Linked DNA regions of Homo sapiens: region 2 is linked to region 1. Evidence: promoter capture Hi-C in 16 types of primary human blood cells and fetal thymus (Javierre and others, 2016). All regions are on one chromosome and are shown on one strand. Each heading gives the region's core, a stretch centred on a gene start or on the middle of the fragment in contact. The rest is flanking DNA. Distances are from core to core; before and after follow the strand shown.

What was found. Contacts are between HindIII fragments. The CHiCAGO score rates a contact against its expected background, and 5 or more counts as called.
Region 2: a contact is called between a fragment that was not itself captured here and the fragment with the promoter of AKAP9 in region 1, in 1 of 17 cell types (total CD4 T cells). The highest score is 5.3, in total CD4 T cells.

The regions. Positions count from the first base shown.
Region 1 is chr7:91,938,251-91,945,642 of GRCh38, forward strand. AKAP9 (A-kinase anchoring protein 9) reads left to right here and starts at 2,612. Exons shown (of 50, transcript NM_005751.5): 1 at 2,612-2,897. The coding sequence starts at 2,850. It overlaps LOC124901698 (a long non-coding RNA gene), which reads right to left and starts at 2,601. Exons shown (of 2, transcript XR_007060431.1): 1 at 2,414-2,601; 2 at 1,600-2,314. RefSeq lists enhancers at 2,153-2,714, 2,753-2,902 and a silencer at 2,443-2,552. The HindIII fragment of the contact is 23,233 bases long and covers 1-5,395 here.
Region 2 is chr7:93,113,892-93,121,283 of GRCh38, forward strand. It overlaps SAMD9 (sterile alpha motif domain containing 9), which reads right to left and starts at 4,088. Exons shown (of 3, transcript NM_017654.4): 1 at 3,972-4,088; 2 at 904-1,004. The HindIII fragment of the contact is 1,297 bases long and covers 2,585-3,881 here.

The DNA of each region.
Region 1 (7,392 bases), core at 1,362-3,861:
ATTGGGCCACTGCATTCAGCCTGGGTGACACAGTGAGGCTCCGTTTAAAAAAGAAAGAAAGAAAGAAAGAAAAGAACTCTACAGGATCTGGCCCCCTGTTACTTTTCTGACTTCATCTCCTACTATTTCCCTTGTTTATTCCACTCTAGCCACCCTCACCTCCTACTCTTCCTTGAGAAGGTCCATCATGGTCTCGCTTGAGGGCCTTTCTTTGGATTTGCTGTACCCTCAACTATCTCCGTGGCTCTCTACCCCCACCCACCACCTGCTTGTTTTTTGGGACAGTGTCACCTGTTGTCTAGGTCCTTACTCTAGAGTGCAGTGGCACAATCTGGGCTCACTGCTTTGGCCTCCCGGCCTCAAGTGATCCTCCCGCCTCAGGCTCTGGAGTAGCTAGGACTACAGGCTCCCGCCACCACACCCAGTATTTTATTTTTATTTATTTATTTATTTATTTTGTAGAGACAGGGTTTCGTCATGTTGCCCAGGCTGGTTTCGAACTCCTGAGCTTAAGCGATCCACCCCGCTCAGCCTCCCAAAGTGCTGGGATTACAGGCGTGCACCACCCCGCCCAGCCTCCTCATCTCTTTCAAGTCTTTGCTGAAATATCTTCTGAAAGAATCACCTGAGTAAGTGAATGACATGACATGAATTAATGATTGGTATGACAAGTTATGACAGAATAGGTGCCATAAGGAAGAGTCAGAACACTAGTGCCCAATGCTTGCTCTTCTAATAGAAGTTAACACAAATCTAACTTTCAACATTGATTGAGCACCCATTATGTAAACTAGACATGTATATGATTGGCTGCTATCAGTGAAGGAAACATTGAAATAATCTTGTTGCTTTGGAAGGTATTCTTGAACATTCTCAGCACCTACAAACAGCTGACTTATTTAGTCACCGAGAAAGCAGTATCCTTTAACAAACAGGAATAGCTTTGGATACCCTGGGGCTTCCCCCTCCTAGGCAATCAGCATCTACACTCATAATCCCTCAATCCAGGCAGTATTTAAATCACTGCACTATTAGAACACTTAGTTCTAGTCCTTACTCTTAATTTGATGGGTGACTAAGTAAATCACTTATTGCCTCAATTCTTTCATCCCTATGATAAAATGTCTAATTTTACCTGGTTCCTAATTCAGGTTGAGATAACAGGACAATATGCACTTGGCTGTTAGAAGTTGGCAGAATGTATGCATTACGGAGCTTAAGAAAAAAATCTTTTTTAAAGCTAAGATTTCTAAATGAGGGCTATTTAAAACTCATCTTCAGTTTGTGGTAGACTTAAGGTCTTTATTATCTCCTTTTTTGTTTTTTAACCTCAATTTTTCACTTAACACCACTTCTACGCTTGAACTCATTTTAGCCTATTTTTTGTTCACAACTGCTAGTTTTTCAGTCCAACCTAGCTCAAAGCAACGGAGAAACATGATAAATCTGAGTAATCAACCAGAGACATTAAAATGTGTAGTTCACTCCAGGAATGGATGTGAGCATTGGAGGGCAGGGAGACGAACACAAAGGACTGAGGGAGCACATGTCGGGGAAACAAGGAAAGATAGTAATGTTAAATTTATAAACACTGCTCAATTCAATCCAAAAAGCGTTTATTGAGTGCAGAGCTCTGTGCTGGTCATTTTAGTAAAGCCAAGATGAGCAAGACTTATGATGAGTCTCTGTCATCAAGGAGCTGGGAGTATGAGCTGAACTAAGACGCACACAAATTATTAAAATATGGTGCAGGGTACTTAAAGGAAGTCCAAGGAGAAATAAAGCTGACATTATTCAGGACGTTTTAATATGTCAGGGCAGTCACATATATTAACAACCCTTCCAAAAATTCCAGGTAGGCTCAGGGAGGATAGGTAACTTGTCATTAACGCTAGAAAGTTAGTGTAGTCTGGCATTGTCCCTAACCGAGGTTCTAAAGCTCAGGCTCCTTTCAGAACACTACTGTTAAAGGGAAGCCCCAAAGAGTCGGGGGAGGGGACTAAGTTTTGACTGGATGTGTCTCGGTTGCCGTGGAGGGAACAAGAGGTCAGAAAAGCCATTTGGAGGCAGCGTGTGCGATGGGACTATAAGGATGAACCGGAGATTGAGTGGGAACCAGTGGAGGGAAGAGGGAGGGACTTTTCAGGCTAAGGAAGTAATAAGAGCAATTAGCTGCTCTCATAATTCTTGAGTCAAGCAGTTAATGTAGGTAGAAAACCTGGCGTCCGCCCCCCCACCACCCCCCACCGGAACTTTTCCGTTGGAGCTTGTAGGTGTTCGCCAATTTCACCATTAGGTGTGTTAGTTTTGTAACCTGAAGGAAAAAAAAAACTCATGTTTTAATAGCAGTGGATTCCTCGGACGGAGGGTGGGGGTCAGGCCAGGAGCCTCTGGCACACTCCGTCTCTCCTACCCCTCAGCTCGGCCGCCACCTGTGAGCCGTTGATGTGCGGGAAGGGCGCTCTCTACGGCGGGATCCTCGCTGGTAGGAGGCAGGTCCCAGGCCTGGCAAGGGTTGACCCCGGAGGGCTGGGCCGGGGCGGCACCCCAGGAGCACCTGCCCACGAGGCGGCTGCGCGGACAGACGTTCCAGCCCCTCCCGCCTCGCCGTGTGTTTACGTGGAGACGAAGATGGCGGCGGCGGCGGCGGTGACGGCGCTTCCCGTGCGGCTGAGGACGATCCGCCAGTGAGCGCGGAGACTGCTTCCACTTCGGGCGGGGGAGCGCCGGACCGAATCGGCTCTCTAGGCCGTGGAGCTTGCCGTCCCACCTCCGTCCAAATCGACCTTTCCTTTCTATCCCCAACCACCCCTCAACCCCTGTTTTCCCCTGCCTTCCTTGCAGAGGCCATGGAGGACGAGGAGAGACAGAAGAAGCTGGAGGCCGGCAAAGCCAAGGTAGGAGAGCCCGAGGCAACCGGGCCTGCGGTGGGAGGCGGTGGCTAGCACGGGGTGGGAGGGGGCCTGGGAAGCGGAGTTCGCCGCAGCCCCAGTGCACTGCCCGAGAGGGAGGTGCTGCAGGGTCTTAGGGTCTGCATCTCTCCTCGCCCTCCTCCTTTCCCCTTTTTCCAGTTGGGGGACAAAGCCTTGTGCTAGCTGATAATACTTCCGCGAGGATTGAATATTGTGGCTCCTTTCTCGTGAATGTCCAAATAAAACTCCCCTTTTACTGTATTGCTGTAAACTAGTGTTTAGTTGCTTCTAAACCTCCGATCTTTCATTTTTTTAAGGAGTTTTCTGGGTGGTGCAGGCATTGTGCTTTCCAGGGTGGGGATTTAGGGCTTTTCTTTATTGGGTTGGGGATTTGTGCGCTGATCATCAGCTTGTCTTCCTTAGGTAGCACGCTGGCACTCTTGGGTGTGTGTGATTGGCCTGTGACAGCTGTCTCAGCAGTGGCTTGTGTGTGCCACAAGTGCCAGCTGTGAACTTGGCTTTAGGGGCGTTTTTAGAAGCGTGTCTTTGTATGTTTGTACTTGAAGGTCTTTGTCATGGCATGCGCTTTTGTGTCCTATGGAATGTTAATGCAGTCTGTGAATGGAACTTCTGAGGACCGAAAGGTTCCATATGCCAACACCTATAGAATTCCTGCTTTAAATAATTTAGTTGTTATATATCTCTCTGGCGAATCCTGGTTGTGTGTGTGTGTGTGTGTGTGTGTGTGTGAACGGTTATGGAAAAGCCTGTAAAGCAAACAATACAATACACAATTATACACAGGCATCGTTCATTGGGCTTCATGAGAAATTTAACATATACAGAATATAAGCTGCGTAGCATATTTCTTTTAAAAATTACATATTTGAGCATATATTTTGTCTGGGCTCAAAAGCCCCCTTCCTCCCTTCAATGAAGTCTTCTTTTATGGATTATATTATTTTTAGAGATAATTGTTAGCAGTCATACTTGGACAAAAATTGTATTACAGGTAACTGTTTTTCCTCTCTTCCTTTCTCTTCTCCTCACATAAACAAAGGAAACCAGGTTAGTGATTTATTATCAATGAAGGGCCATACCGCAGAGATGCAGTGATAGAAGCTCAACACAAGTTTGTTAAATGAATATATATATAAAAACTAGCTTCATATTTCTAAAATATAGTTGACTTTCCTATAAGCTCCCTCTATTTAAGATCAAGGTTTAAATGCTTGTATATAGCCAGGTAAATTTTTACTTTCGAATCTATAAATGGTGGGAAAGGGGAATCAGGGTATCTTTAGAAGTCCAAAGCCTACACTTGTGCAATCTGAGGGGCTGAGCAAGCTCTATGCATCTACGGAAGTAGTGGAGGTGAAGTGTGTGCCCCTCCAAAAGCATTGAAGATCTGATTAGATGTCTTACTTGTCTGTTACCTCACAATTTTTATTGCCTGCCCCCAGAAATGTCTTTCCTGAATATATGTGAAGCAGTCCTACAAAACATGGTTTACTTTGGACATACACATTTCATAATAGAGGATTTATTTAAATTGCTTGCAGTTGTAGTTGATGTGGCAAAATACAATTCTAGTTTCTTTGTGTGTTTCTTTATCTTTCAGAATTCTATGTATGGGGTAAAAACCTGTTTAAGGTGAATTTTTGTTGTAAAAGATTATCTTCTTTTAGAATTTAGCCCTTTTTCCAGTAAGATATAAATCTATGAGACTTGTAAGGCAAGGTGTGTTTGCTGCAACATTAGCTATACAATATAAAAATGCTGACATTGGGAGCCTGGGGCGAGAGGATTGCTTGACACCAGGAGTTCAAGACCAACCTGGGCAACATAGTGAGACTCTACAAAAAATTAAATAAAAAAAAAAAATAGCAGGGCATGGTGGTGTGCGCCTGTATGTAGTCCTAGCTACTCAGGAGTCTGAGGTGGGAGGATCACTTGAGCCCAGGAGTTCGAGGCTGCAGTGAGCTATCATCATGCTACTGCACTCCAGCCTGGGCAACAGAATGAGATCCTGTTTCAGAAAACAAACAAACAAAAAAAAACCCCTGGAAATAACTTTTAAAGACAACACGAAGGGAATCATTTTCTAAGTTATATAAATATGATGGAATATTTTAAAGCCATTAAGATTATGAAGACTGATAGGAATATGAAAAATAGTGTGAAAAGGGCATTATCAAAAATAGTATGTACATTATTTCATTTGTATAAACGTGTGCTTTCAGATTAGAACTGAAAAACTCTGGATTATAATTTTATTCAGCAAACGTATATTGAATCCCTATTTTATACCTAGAGGTGGTGACAGTGTCTGCTCTCAAGTTGCTCACTGTTTAGTGGGAGAGACAGACTCTGGGTGATAAGTACAAAGAGGGATGAGCTGCAGTAGGATTTGGGGGATATTCTTCCACGTTTTGTTAAAGTGTTTTAAATACTACTATGTCATTTTATAGAATTACTAAGAAAGCTTTACTATTGATATTAATGCACCATAATATAATGCCTTTCAAATAGTTATTCATACATATTTGCTTAATGAATGAACAGAATGATTAATGAGTCATTAATAAGTGTTACTTTCCTAGCACGGTTGTAATTTAATAACATTAATCTAGAATTCTCTTAATGTGAAATCCATATTGCTGGCATCAGAAACAACTTTAAATGATCATTTTCCAAAGTTTATCTGAGACTTCATTCTGCAAATGTCTCATTTGTTCACTGGACTTAAGTATTGTATTTGATAATCTAGTTTTGCAAACCACAACTTACAAATCTTTTTGGGGGTAATTTATTGATAAACAGTTCCATTGGAAAATTCCCTTTCTGTATCTAAACCTTATAAATGATCACTTTTTAAACAGTTTGTCATGTATGCAGTATAATATATAGTATACTGTATAAAATGTTTTATACTACCCCAAATCTGTAATAATGGGTTAATAAATTATGATATGTAAAATAATTCTACAAAGACTTTTTGAGTGTGGAAAATGCCCACAAATAATGCCAGGTTAAAAAGAAAAAAGTTACCAGGAAAAGGTATATGTACATATTTAAATATGAAGACACCTGAAAAAAAGCACCAAGATGTAAATCGTGGCTATCTCTGGGTGGTGGCTTATAGGCAATTTTAATTTTCTTTATACTTTTAGTATTTTCCAAATTCTTGATACAATGTATCTCTTTTATGACCAGAAAAGAATATTCAAATGCCATTTTTTTTTTTTTTGAGACAGCCTGTCTCCCAGGCTGGAGTGCAGTGGCAGGATCTTGGCTCACTGCAGCCTCCACCTCCCAGGTTCAAGCGATTCTCCTGCCTCAGCCTCCCAAGTAGCTGGGATTACAGGCATTTACCACCACGCCTGGCTAATTTTTGTATTTTTAGTAGAGATGGGGTTTCACCATGTTGGCCAGGCTGGTCTCGAACTCCTGCCGTTAAGTGATCTGCCTGCCTCGACCTCCCAAAGTGCTGGGATTACAGGCATGAGCCACTGCACTCAGCCTCAAATGCCATTTTTTAAAAAACATAAAGGCTTATCAAATACATTATATTAAACACATGTTATAGTGTATGACCATTATCCAGAACAGGAAAATGAGGCACAGAATAACTAGGTTTCCTATTTTAGCGTAGGCCTGGAATTGTAATTGCTATTTCAGTGCAGAGTGTATAATATAGTTGGGATTATATTGTTAGACATTTTATAGATTTCCTTTCTGTTTTTGTTGTGCTTATTCTTTCCTTGCTGTTAGTTCGTATTGCTATGGGCATGCTCTTACTCCTCATCTGCCTCTTTTCCTAATTTGCTGTTTTAGATTTGCTACGACTAAGGAACCCAGAACTGAGGTTGACAGAATACTATGTAAAAAGAAAAAACAACAACAACAAAGACCTTAGGCGGGGTGTGATGGCTCACTCCTGTAATCCCAACACTGGGAGGCTGAGGTGGGAGGATCGCTTGAGCCCAGAGGTTCTAGATCAGCCTGGGCAATGTAGTGAGACCCCATCTCTAAAAAGAAAAAAGTATAAAAAACAAAACAGGTGGGGCGCAGTGGCTCACACCTGTAATCCAAGCACTTTAGGAGGTTGAGGTGGGTGGATCATCTGAGGTCAGGAGTTTGAGACCAGCCTGGCCAACATGGCAAAACCCCGTCTCTACTAAAAAATACAAAAAAATTAGCCAGGCGTGGTGGCAGGTACTAATCCCAGCTACTGGGGAGGTGGAGGCAGGAGAATCACTTGAACCCAGGAGGTGGAGGTTGCAGTGAACCGAGGTTGTGCCACTGTACTCCAGCCTGGGTGACAGAGCAAGACTCTGTCTCAAAAAACAAAACAAAACAAAAACAGAGGCCAGTGTAGCCTGCCCAGTGGGCTTTAGGGCAGTTTAGTTTTTCTGCTGCTTGTTGGTTGTTTTGGTTTACTGTTGGGTCCTCAGCTATTTCCTCAGTATTGATGTTG
Region 2 (7,392 bases), core at 1,983-4,482, 1.2 Mb after region 1:
AATTCCTCAAGGATCTAGAACTAGAAATACCATTTGACCCAGCCATCCCATTACTGGGTATATACCCAAAGGATTATAAATCATGCTGCTATAAAGACACATGCACACGTATGTTTATTGCGGCACTATTCACAATAGCAAAGACTTGGAACCAACCCAAATGTCCATCATTGATAGACTGGATTAAGAAAATGTGGCACATATACACCATGGAATACTATGCAGCCTTAAAAAAGGATGAGTTCATGTCCTTTGTAGGGACATGGATGAAGCTGGAAACCATCATTCTGAGCAAAGTGTTGCCAAGGACAGAAAGTCAAACACCACATGTTCTCACTCACAGGTGGGAACTGAACAATGAGAACACTGGGACACAGGTTGGGGAACATCACACACTGGGGCCTGTTGTGGGGTGGGGGAGGGGGGAGGGATAGCATTAGGAGATATACCTAATGTAAATGACAAGTTAATGGGTGCAGCACACCAACATGGCACATGTATACATATGTAACAAAGCTGCACGTTGTGCACATGTACCCTAGAACTTAAAGTATAGTTTTTTAAAAAAGGAGGAATGACTGAAAATCATGAACCTAATGCCAGTTTAATAAATTGAAAGAAGAATAACAGAATAAAACTGAAATAAGAAGAATGAGAAAAATAAAGATAAGAGCAGGAATTTATAAAGTGGAAAACAAAATGACAAGAGAGACTCAGTGAAGTCCAAGAGCTGTTTAGATAAAAAGTAATAAAATTGACACATCCATGGAATGATTAACCAAAAAATAAAAAAGAAAGGTGGCACAAATAAGCAATATTAGAAACTTTAAAAATGAACCAACTTTAACTGAATAAATTGAAAACTGAGATTAATTGAGCAAATTCTTAAAAAATATAGCTTACCAAACTGACTCTAGAAGAAACCGAAGAAGTCTCACTTCCAGGGTGATGTAGGAGATCACAAAAGGCCACCTATTCACCCACTGCAACCATGAGATCAAAATCTGAAAAATTGCAAAACTCATATTTTTAAGTAATCACAAAGTCATCAATAGACCAGATGACAAGGACTGGATGAACTAAAATTCCAGAGAGGAAAGATCCCTGTCTATGTAAGCTTTGGGGGCATTTGTTGATTTGGGGTTGGGTTTAAGGATTAGACTTGGCCTACCGGGAGGAGGAAAACCAGTGGGGATTTTCATAGTCACAGGGGCGGGTCTAATGAAGTGCAATTAGAAGTGTTCCAAAATGTTTACCGTAATGGAAATGCAAAGTAAAATTACAACAAGATAATACTACATGCCTACCAGAATGGCTAAAATTAAAGACTGTTAATGCCAAATGTTGGTGATGATGTGGAGTCAGTGGAGCTCTCATATGCTGTCTGTGGGAATGTACATTGTTTTAGCCACTTCAAGAAACTATCAGTTTTTGTGAAGTTAAATATATACCTACTCTTTGGATCTGCAATTCTCATGAAAATTATTAAAGTACTGATACAGGCAACAACATGAATGAATATCACATCATACTGTGTGAAAGAAGCCAGTTACAACAGAAAACATATTGTAGAATTCTACTTATATAGTTTAAGAATAGGCAAAAGTAATCTGTCATAGAAGTCAGACTGATGTTGGGGGGTGGATATTTTCTGGGAAGGGGTGATGGAAATATTTTATATCTTGATATGGCTAGCGGTTGCACAGATAAGTACATATTAAAATTTCATAAAGGCTTACCCTTAAGTTTGTTCATTGTATACAAGTTATACTGTATTTAAAAAGCCAATAATGCCTCCAAAATACATTAGAAAATAAAACGGATGAATAAAATAAAAGAGATACTTGCATAAAAAAGATGATGGTGTGTTATGAATCAAGGATAATTGTGAATTCAATGGTATGTGAGGTCCTAAAGTTTTACTAGGTGTTTATTATTGCAGTCTCAGATTATGAACTTTTGACTTCTGCATCCCACTCAGTGTTGATTCAATACTGGTTTTAGAGTTGTCTAAAAACTGACTACACCCTCGTCTAGTAACCATTCTATCTGAGTCACTTTCTTGTATCCATTTACTGAGTCACGTCTACTCCACCCTATGAAAGTATGCTCACTTTTGTTGCACCCACACTATTTAACACATAAAGCAGGGGTCCCCGATTATTGTGCTGCTAGCGTGCGCTGGCTCCTGAGGCCTCATACCTATGGCTCTCATCCCCCATCTCGCCGCTTCCCACCAGTACCCTTTTCCTAGGGTCTCCCTGACTTCCTTCATCAACTTGGACCTTTCACAGTTTTACAGACACAGTCCTTAGTCTCTGGTGATATGTCATAAACTAGATTATGAGACTGGTGAATTAGATGGATTATTTGATTCATGCAAGAACTACATACCATTATATGTGAAAACGTAAAGTCAGGTTCTCATATAAGAGTGTGGGGGATGGAGAACTGGGCCTGAACATTTGGTTGGGAAAGTAAGCAAATAATAAAGAAGTGACTTTTGACTGTTTTCTCTACTAGAGACACTATGAATATTTCAAATGTCATTGAACAGGTTACACTTTCACACTTCTTCCCCTAAAGCTTTTGTCAGATTATTGATAGCTGTGCCTTTCAATACATTATTTTAAAAAAATTGTTGATGATGTCACTCTTGGAGAAAATATATGCCAGCATTCATAGGTATTTATGCCACTGTTCATAGATATTTTACATATTAATGATTTCTTTATACCCTCTCGTTCCAAAATGTTTTTTAGGTAATTTAGAAAGTAATATAGGATCACACATATATTAAAACCCTTAGGTAAAGAAATCATGGGGAAGGCTAAATAAGGGTAGGGGGAGAAAAGGTGAAATGAGGGAGTAAAATTAGTACCTAAAATTACTGGTTTTGATTCCGTATACTTTAAAAACTGACCTGAAAATTTGGTTCTGAGCATCTTAGTAGGAAACACTATTTGTTACTGATTGAACCCACATACATTTTTTAACTCTGGTTGGTGTTAAACTGTAGGGTTTGTTAACTTTTCTAGAAGGGAGTTGAAGGTCAGACCTTTATTCAGAAATGTGATCCTCCAACCGTCTTGCATTATCTTACTGTTTGCTTTGGGGAGAAATTAGACATAAACCTAGTATTTTTGCCAGGAACATAAAGCTGCCTTAATTCCAAAGACTTCCCATAGTAGTCTATCTGTCTGTCTGTCTTCCTATGTATGTCATCCGACAACAATATCTGAGAAGCTCTCAGAGAGTTTTGTTTTCTGGAAGCTACCTATTTCTTAGAGTAGATGGTGGAAGTTGTATTTGATTAAAGTAAAGTACTTTTAAGTTTTCATTGCCTGTTCTTTATCTATCTTTCCGTTTGTTGTTGTTGTTGTTGTTGTTGTTGTTGTTGTTTTTGAGACAGTGTCTCACTCTGTTGCCTATGCTGGAGTGCAGTGGTACAATTACAGCTCACTGTAACCTTAAATTCCTGGGCTCAAGCAATCCTTCTGCCTCAGCCTCCAAAGTAGCTAGACTGCAGCTGCGTGCCACCACATCCAGCTATTTTTTTTTTTGGTAGGAATCTTGCTAGGTAGGGTCTTGCTATGTTGCCCAAGCTAATTTTGAATTCCTGGCCTCAAACAATTCTCCTGTCCTTGCCTTCCAAAGTGCTCAAATTACAGGCTACCACACCTGGCCTGTTTGTTCTTTCTGAAGATGCTGTATGCCTTGGGAGAGTTCATCAATAAAAGTGTCTGTAGTTTTCAACTGCATCTTTAATGAAATGTTATGACTAATTTTTCAACTAATATAAAGCAGACTGCTGTCAGAGCAACAAATAGTCTAGAATTTCTAGGCTTAGAATACTATTTTTTGTTTTGAGGTATATTTGAAGCTTCTAATTGAAAAGTATATTTCTTTCTATTCAATAAAATGCTGCTATAGATAGTAAGAACAATATTAATAATAGATATTGTACTTACCCAGTAGTCTTGCAAATTTCTTTTACATATATGTGGGGAAAACCATCTCTTTTAGTGCTGAAAATATCTGATGTGTTTGTTTTCTTCCTCCTACGATGCTAGAGAAAAGTATTTTCCTCATTCTGGTTTTAACGGAAGTCTATGTATTCTCTGCTTCTGTCTCACAGCAAGCTCTAATTGGCTCAGAAACAGCAGGGCGTGTTTAACAACTGGGAGGTTGGGGAAGGAAGAATATAGGTTTGGTTTCAGTTTCATTTCTCAGATCTGAAATTACAGCACCGCCTTTTCTATCTGAAATGCTTTTTAATAAGCTATGGCTATATACCACCTTCTGGTCTGCTTGGTTAAAATCTGAAGGCTTAACAATTTTTCCTCACTTGAGAGTTTTGAGGGCTGCAGAAAGCCCCATTGTCTTGTTATAGACAAACTGTGGGATATTCTGGCTTAATTGATCCCTTGGGAATATGAGTTTACATTGCAGTCCCAGCCTTGTAGAGCACCAGGTTGGAGATACTCTAGGTCAATATTTCACTGGCCTTTAAGGGTGGAGTTACTGTCCATTCCTGTTTTCCTAAAGTGTAAAGAATGTCTTTCAGGGATAGGACTTCTTTGAGCACCCCAATAAGTGCTAAATTCATTTATTGCAGAGCAGACCAGGGCTGCAGCAGACCTGATGGTCACATTGTAGAGATTTATCTTTTCTAAGGTCAGTGTCAGGGCCAGAGAGAAAACTGCCTGAGTGAGAGCAACAAAAATAGCTGATATTTTAAAAACTAACAGCAAGTACTGATATTTATTGTGTGTGCTCAATTAGCTTTTGGTTTCCACATCCCACAACTGATTCACACTGGTTTTAGATGAAAACATTTAAAAACATTTATTTTAAAATATTTATTGGGCGCTTACCATGTACCAGGCATTGTTCTAAATGTTTCATATTAACTTAATTACTCTTCACAACAATCTCCTGAGGTAGAGATTATTTTTATCTCAATTTTAAAGGTGAAGAAACTGAGGCATAGAGATTAAATAATATGGCTAAAGTTTGCATAACTAATACATGGCAGAGATTCGAATCCAGGTTTCAGGCCAGTGCTCTTAAATCCTGAGGTTTAGGAAGAAAGAAAGTGGCTATGAAGGACAGCCTAGATATGACCATTACACTTATCACCCTCAGGAGCCCTCCTCGTAAGGGGACCCTGGGCCTGAACTCCAAAACCTGGGTTTCACTTTGCATGGGGACCAGTGTGATGGTTAATTTTATGGGTCAACTTGACCGGGCCACAGAGTGCCTAGATATTTGGTCAAACATTATTCTGGTGGTTCTGTGAGGGTGAGGAGGCAGGACTAGCTTGCAGCTCCTGCTGGGACAGACAGGACAGCATGTGGAGACTCACATCATGAACTTTTGCTTCAAGAATTACTGCAGCAACATACCAGGAAAGCCAAGAGAATTCACAGACCCTTTGAAGGAACTGTATCGCCACTGCAGTTTCTCTGAGATGCCAAAAAGAAAAGTCATGAGTCTGCTTGCTTTCTCAGCAGGGAGGCTGATAGCCAGGGGCAAGTTCTCAGCCCTGGTCACCGACTGCCTGGAAATAGATTCGATGTTGTTGGCAGGGGCACAGTGGGAGTGAGACTGGCCTTTAGGAGTGTGGGTTGTGTGGAAATGGGGTGAGGCCTGTGACTGCTGGCTTTTCCCCACTTCCCTGGTGTCCTATGTCACTCAGTGGAGACAGCCATAATCCCCCTGGGAACATAACTCCATTGGCCTGGGAACCACACCCCCGCCCCCTACAGCAAGTGCAGCAGACCCCACCCAATAAGAGTCTGAGCTCAGCCACACCTATGCCTGCCCCAACCTGTTGGTCTTTCTTTACCTGCCCTGGTTGCAAGACAAAGGACATATTCTGCCCACTGCCTCAGAAACATGAATATATAACTAGATGACCCTAGGTCAAGTTTGCTTCCTCCCTATAGTACCACAGCTAATGCACTCTTGAAAATGCCACCTCCTGGCTGGAGGCCAACCAACACAAAACCAGAGCATTTAACGAAGATATAACCAAGGACCCTTACAGAGTCCACTTCACTCCCCTGCTACCTCCACTGGAGCAGGTGCTGGTATCCACAGCTGAAAGACCTGAAGATGTATTACATCACAGGACTCTTTGCCGACACTTCCCAGTACCAGTCTGGAGTCCAGTAGCTCTGCTAGATGACTAGGCCCAGAAGAGAAAAAACAATCACTGCAGTTTGGCTCCCAGGAAGCCCCATCCCTAGAGGAAGTGGGAGAACACTACATCAAGGGAGCACCCTGTGGGACAAAAGAATCTGAATAGTAGCCCTTGAGTCCCAGATCTTCCCCCTGACACAGTCACCCAAATGAGAAGGAACCAGAAAAACAATTCTGGTAATATGAAAAAACAAGGTTCTTGAACACCCCCAAAATACCACACCAGCTCACCAACAATATATCCAAACCAAGACAAAATCTCTGAATTGCCAGGAAAATAATTCAGAAGGTTTATTATTAAGCTAATCAAAAAGGCACTAGAGAAAGGTGAATTCTAACTTAAAGAAATAACAAACATGATACAGGATATGAAAGGAAAATTCCTCAGTGAAATAGATAGCATACATAAAAAACAATCACAATTTCTGGAAATGAAGAACACAATTAGAGAAATAACAAATGCACTGGAGGTGGTTGGCAAGATGGCCAAATAGGAACAGCTTCGATCTGCAGCTCCCAGTGAGATCAATGCAAAAGGCGGGTGATTTCTGCATTTCCAACTGAGGTACCGGGCTCATCTCATTGGGACTGGTTAGACAGTGGGTGCAGCCCATGGAGGGTGAGCTGAAGCTGGGTGGGGCATCTCCTCACCCAGGAAACACAAGAGGTTGGGGAACTCCCTCCTGTAGTCAAGGGAAGCTGTGAGGGACTGTGCCATGAGGAACGGTGCATTCTGGCCCACCCACATATTACACTTTTCCCATGGTCTTCACAAGCTGCAGACTGGGAGATTCCCTTGGAGGCCTACACCACAAGGGCCCAGGGTTTCAAGCACAAAACTGGGTGGCCATTTGGGTAGACACTGAGTTAGCTGCAGGAGTTTTTTTTTTTAATACCCTAGTGGTGCCTAGAACACCAGCAAGACAGAACTGTTCACTCCCCTGAAAAGGGGGCTGAAGCCAGGGAGCCAAGTGGTCTAGCTCAGCGGATCCCACCCCCACGTGCCAGGTCTGTCCTGCAGACCCTGGCCGAGCGATGGATCTAAGGGGTACTCAGACACAGGTATGCGTGTAAGAGCAGCTAGGGATCTGCCTGGCTTTAGTGGCCGAAGTGCAGCAGCCCTGAGAAGCTGGAGCTGCTTGCTTTTATTCAGTGCAGGCACAATGTCGAAAACCTGGAGCAAAC